Linked DNA regions of Homo sapiens: region 2 is linked to region 1. Evidence: promoter capture Hi-C in 16 types of primary human blood cells and fetal thymus (Javierre and others, 2016). All regions are on one chromosome and are shown on one strand. The core of a region is centred on a gene start or on the middle of the fragment in contact, and the rest is flanking DNA. Distances in the headings are between cores, read along the strand shown. Region 1 holds the start of WSCD1 (WSC domain containing 1). Region 2 overlaps LOC339166 (a long non-coding RNA gene).

Region 1 (2,955 bases), core at 135-2,634:
AGTGGGTGATTGCAAACAGCGCAGGGCAAGCCAGCTTTATATCTCCTGTAACTTTCACTCCCCACCACCCTCACTTTCTGTGCCTGACAACCTAGGCAAATCAGAGGAAAAAAGAAAGGCCCCCACTCCTGATGCCAAAGTGGGATAAACCAAGTGCCTCCATAAACCTAAGCATGCTGTTCCAGCAACAAGAGGGATGCGGGTATCTCATGTTAGAAAAGTACAGCGGAGTCCTGCATCTGTCCATCTTGGGAGCTGCAGGGGCAGGGCCAGTGTGGGGAGCAGCTGGATCCCAGTGCAGGGCTATGAGGCTAGAACTCCTATATGAGCCTTCCCACTGCTCAGCGGAAGGAAGAGCGGTCCCCTTCCCCACCCGCATTCCCGATCAGCAGAGCAGGCATCATCCCAGGCGCACAAATGCTCAGGAAAACCACCAGCGAGGTTACCCGGAGGCAGGGGACCCAGCCAGGTACGTACGCTCCTGAGTAGCCAAGAAAAACGCAATTTAGCAACCTTCAGTCGTGAGTCTCCGTCCACACCTACGAAGACGCAAAGCTCTACACTAGGTAATTTTCTGGACAAAATACATACGTTTTGCTTTTGCCTCTGCCTCTGTTCAAGTTCACCAAGAGACGGAGCAAACCCTCCGCTGACCGGAAGCCTCTCTTGGTAGCGGAACGAGAGGGAGCTGCTTCTGGGTAAACGTCGCCGCCTAGGAGGGAAGCTGTGCGCACCCCACACCCTGCCCTCGCCCCCTCCCCGGGACCAACCGCAGCGCCCTCCCGGGTGACGGACGGGCTCTCAGGACTCCGGAGGGGGACGCGGCTCGTGCGGCGCCTCGCGCACCCCCACCCCATCCCGGCCGCGCCGAGCGCCGCCCCCGCCCCCCCACAACCCCTGCACGCACCCGCTCACTCTCCCCTGCCCCGGCCGAGCCGCCCCGGGCCCCCGGGAAGGTGCCCCCGGCAAGCCCGCCCTGCAGCCGGAGCAGGTGCAGCCCCGCCGCGCTCCCAACCGCGTCTGCACAAACTTGTTTGCCCGCGGCAAGGGGAACACCCTGCTCGCAGCCCGCGCGGGGGTCCGGCTGGAGCGCCGAGAGACAGGACTCACCCCGCGATCGCGGCCGGCTGGGGCGCCCGCACCCGCGCCCATGGCCCGCCTTCCCCGGGCGCCGAGCCCGCAGCCCCCCGCAGTGCCCGGAGCCCAGAAGCCCCGGCGCCCGCACGTCTCCGGCCGCCCGCGGCAAGCGGACCCACGCGCCCGGGCACAGGGCGCCGCCGCCTGGCTCCCCGGGGCTGCTGGCGTCCGGGCTGAACGGCGGGGCGGGCGGGCGGGCGCGGAGCCGGGGCGGGCAGCGGGCGGGCGAGCGGGCGCCGGGCTCTGCACATGCTCACTCGCGCGGCCCGGGGACAGCGGCCGGCCGCCGCCGGGTCCTAGAGGCGCCGGTGCGCACCTCCCGCCGCCCGGGGGAGGGGTCGCGGCTCCGCCGGAGGGGGCCCACGCCCTGCCCCGGCCCGCGAGAACACGCGCGCGGGGCGGGCCACACGCGCCACTGCCGAGCAGAGACGCCGCCACCCACTCTGATACACACACACACACACACACACACCAGTCACCCAGAGCCACAGCCTTTCACCGGGGCCCCACGGGCTCTAACACACGCACCATGACGCTCACACCCAGACACAGACCCACAAACACACGGGGCACTGCCGCGCAGAGGAGAGCACGCCGCCACTCTCCCATGCAGACTCACAGCGACAGCCGCACACTGCCTGACACACACATCCCGAATCACTGCTTCCCAGAGACACCGACACCCACACTCACACACACACTCTCTGGGCTCTGCCCCACTCACCCAGAAGCAGACTGGGCCACTGTGACAGGCACGCACACGTACACACACAGCCACACAGTTTAGAGTGCACTCTAATACACACACACACCACACACGCACGCACACACACACACACACACACACACACCGGATCACCGTCCCATGCAGAGCTAGAGACAGACGGTCACAGCTTCACACACATTCACACTCAGAAACAAGCACCTGCTGGAACACAGACACTCTCACACAATCTGAGACAGACCTACACAGAATTGCAGCCCTACAAATACCCTGACACCAGCTCCCGCGTCTACACACTCGGGGGTCGGCCGCCGGCTTATCATACTGCTCCACACCGCACACAGTGACAAACCCACGCCTTGACATAGTTGCCCACAGAAGCAATGTCACACACTGGTGTCTACTAACAGACACACTCTCAGAGGGGCATACTGGGCATTGACCCACAGGCTCTCTCTCTCTCTCTCTCTCTCACACACACACACACACACACACACACACACACACACACGCACCGAGGTGGAAAGAGGCTGAACAGTCACACAAGTCTATACACAATCCCCCTCTTTAAATAAAGGCTGGATCCAAACCTAAAGATTTTTCCCAGGGAGGAGCCCCACCCTGTTCCCCCAAAGCCGCCAAGTCACAGCATCTGCCCTGCTCTGCCATGTGCACCGGTGGACCCTGTCCTCACCCGGAGCTGGCTGCTAAGATGCTCCCAGAAGCTGAGGACAGCAGAGGCAGCAGGAGCAGGTGGTGGTGCCTCTTACTCCGTCTTCCTAAAAGGGAGTTTCATGCCTCCGACTCCCGCTAGGGGCAGAGCTGCTTGGCCTGGCTCCGAGGAGCTGGCTTGCAACAGGTGCAGGTGGCAGGGAAAGCGTTTGCCTGGGGACCAGTCACAGTCCCTCCTTACGCGGGTCAGTCAGGTGGCGCCCAGAGCGGGAAGAGACTCGCTGCAGTTTGCATAGCTATGTCTGGCCAAGTGCAGAATTAGAACAGAGTCTGCACCATCCGCATGAAGGCAGAATGCTCTGAAGGTCTTGGGGCACCTGGATTTAATATCCTTAAGCCCAGGAAGAGGATACAGTAAGTGA
Region 2 (2,955 bases), core at 205-2,704, 260 kb after region 1:
TGACTGGCAATTGGTCAAAAGAGTTATTCTCAATAGAGAGGAATGGCTGGGTGCGGAGGCTCATGCCTGTAATCCCAGCACTTTGAGAGGCTCAGGCAGGCGGATCATGAGGTCAGGAGATTGAGACCATCCTGGCTAACATGGTGAAACCCCATCTCTACTCAAAATAAAAAAAACTAGCCAGGAGTGGTGGCGGGCACCTGTAGTCCCAGCTACTCAGGAGGCTGAGGCAGGAGAATGGCATGAACCCAGGAGGTGGAGCTTGCAGTAAGCCGAGATTGCACCACTGCACTCCAGCCTGGGTGATAGAGCAAGACTCTGTCTCAAAAAAAAAAAAAAAAAAAAAAATCACTAGAAAGGAATGTCTGGGTAACCATAAGGGGTTGTGGAGACCAAGGCTTTATCATGCAGACAAAGACTCCAGGTAGCAGGATACAGAGAGAATAGACTGTAAATGTTTCTTCTCAGATGTACAGAGTCTGTTCTATCCATAATTCCAAAAGGGCAGAGGGGATAATGAGGCATGTCCAGCTCCCTCTTCCCATCATGGCCTGAACTTGTTTTTCAGCTTAACTTTGGAATGCCCTTGGCCAAGAGGAGGGGTCCCTTTAGATGGCTGTGGGGGTCTTAGAATTTTATTTTTGGTTTGCAGAGAGGAAAGATTGCTGTAAAAAAATAATGAGGCCAGGCGCAGTGGCTCACGCTTGTAATTCCAGCCTTTTGGGAGGCTGAAGCAGGCAGATTATGAGGTCAAGAGATCAAGACCATCCTGGCCAACATGGTGAAACCCCATCTCTACTAAAAATATAAAAAATTAGCCAGGCATGGTGGCTCACGCCTGTAGTCCAGCTACTCGGGAGGCTGAGGCAGGAGAACCACTTGAACCCAGGAAGCAGAGGTTGCAGTGAGCCGAGATCATGCCACTGCACTCCAACCTGGTGACAAAGTGAGATTCTATCTCAAAAAAACAGAAAATGGCACCGATTAAAAAAAAAGAATGAAATAACATAAACATCAAAAAACTTCTAAAATTATCAAATAGCTTCTAAAATTATGCAGAAATGAAAAACTCATTAGGATAGACGATAGAGTGAAGAGATATCTCCCAAAAGACAAAAAGGTGGAAAGGAGAAAAATATGTTAGCAGACATGTCCAGAAGGTATAATATTTAAACAAAAGGAATTTCAGAAAGGGGACCTGAGAAAATGATGAAAGGAACAATTGACTAAAAATCCCAAAACTGAAGGATCCACATTGAAAGGAAAATAATTACCAACCTATAAGTCTTTACCCAGCAAAGCTACCAATTATGTGTAAAGGTCAAATGAAGATATTGTCAGACATGCAAGATGTCAAAAGTCTATCTTCCAGGCACTGTTTCTCATGAAAACAGCAGAGATGGGTTGGTCCCCAATAAGCAGGGTAAACAGAGAAAGAGATACAGGGGACAGAGTACACAGGAGATCCAACCCAGGAGACAGGCAAAGAGAATCTCCACAATGATGTGATGGAAGGTCCCAGATGTCAACTAAGCAGCAGGCTGGGAGAACACCCACCTCTGACAGGCTGGTTAGGGGTTTCTTCAGGAAAATGAAACATATAGTATATCTGTCTGAACACCTTCTGGGGAAATCTAGACAATTGGCAGAGAGCTTGGCATTGGATTATTGGAAAATCCACAGAAAACGAGAGAAATGAAAGACCCAGGACAGTTATGAATTGCATGGAAGATGAAAGGCTGGGCCATCATAGTATGCAGAAAAGTAATCGTGGCCAGGTGCAGTGGCTCATGCCTGCAATCCCAACACTTTGGGAGGCTGAGGTGAGTGGATCATTTGAGGTCAGGAGTTTGAGACCAGCCTGGCCAATACGGTAAAACCCCGTTTCCACTAAAAATACAAAAATTAACTGGGCATGGTGGTGCATGCCTGTAATCCCAGCTACTTAGGAGGCTGAGGCAGGAGAATCACTTGAACTGGAGAAGTGGAGGTTGCAGTGAGCTGAGATCATGCCATTGCACCCAGCCTGGGTGACAGAGTGAGACCCTGTCCCAAGGGGAAAAAAAAAGAAAGAAAAAGTAATCATAGGACACTGCACGTTCCTGCTATAAAAGCACTTACATAGGGATTGTAACATAAACCTGGTGGTGATCTCACCAAAATCTTCACCATGTTTTGGGAGGAAAGAGAATGGGGGAAGAGCAGTGAGAAGAAAAAAGAGCTAAATCCATCTTATTCACAGTAGGAAACCAGGAGATAGTGCCCAACACTACACAATATAGAAATAGCTGCAAGATTATTATATAAAGCAAAGAGATCAATACCACAAGAATGGGCTAAAATCTTGAAAGTTCTTGCCTCCAGGGATGAGAAAGAGGGAGGACGGTTTCCAATAACAAGCCTCATAGACCTATCAGGGTCTTCAAATTTGGTATATGTATAAATTGGATAAAAACTAAAACAAATTATCCCTTTTTTAACTTGGGCAATGGAACTAAAGGCTTTCTGAAATTGCCTTTACCTATAACAGTGCAGGGCTCAAAGTGATTTCTTATTTTTAGGAAACACAATAGGCAGTTTTCTTGAACTCTGAGGTCTTCTGGCATCCCTTGCTGTTTGTGAAATGACTCCCTTAAGTGAAGAAATAGATCAGAGTCACATTCCCTGTGTATTGAGTTTGGGTGCGTTTTGGCATGTCCCTGCCACTGAGCCCTGTGAATCGATGTAAAGCACAGGACTAATGAGATCCTGGTGCACATCAGCTGCCCCTCAGTCACCCCCAACTCCTTCCCTAGACAGGCCTTGGACTCCAGCAAATCAAGGGCAGCTCATGCCCCTTGCTGGGGGCTCTCCTAGCCCCCTCCTCCATCACCCACTATGCATATTCCTGAGGCTGCAATGAATGTTCCCAGAGATTGTTGCAGGAATCAAGGGACAAGAGAGACCAATGGGTGA

The links. The method cuts DNA at HindIII sites, captures the fragments that hold promoters and counts their contacts. A CHiCAGO score of 5 or more calls a contact.
Region 2: a contact is called between a fragment that was not itself captured here and the fragment with the promoter of WSCD1 in region 1, in 1 of 17 cell types (endothelial precursors). The highest score is 8.1, in endothelial precursors.

Annotation. Positions count from the first base shown.
Region 1 is chr17:6,068,808-6,071,762 of GRCh38, reverse strand. WSCD1 (WSC domain containing 1) reads right to left here and starts at 1,384. Exons shown (of 9, transcript NM_015253.2): 1 at 1,111-1,384. RefSeq lists an enhancer at 1,317-2,148. The HindIII fragment of the contact is 6,207 bases long and covers 1-2,955 here.
Region 2 is chr17:5,809,811-5,812,765 of GRCh38, reverse strand. All of the region lies in intron 1 of LOC339166 (a long non-coding RNA gene), which reads right to left. Among named protein-coding and RNA genes, the nearest start is that of NLRP1, 230 kb to the right of the region's middle. The HindIII fragment of the contact is 3,306 bases long and covers 1-2,955 here.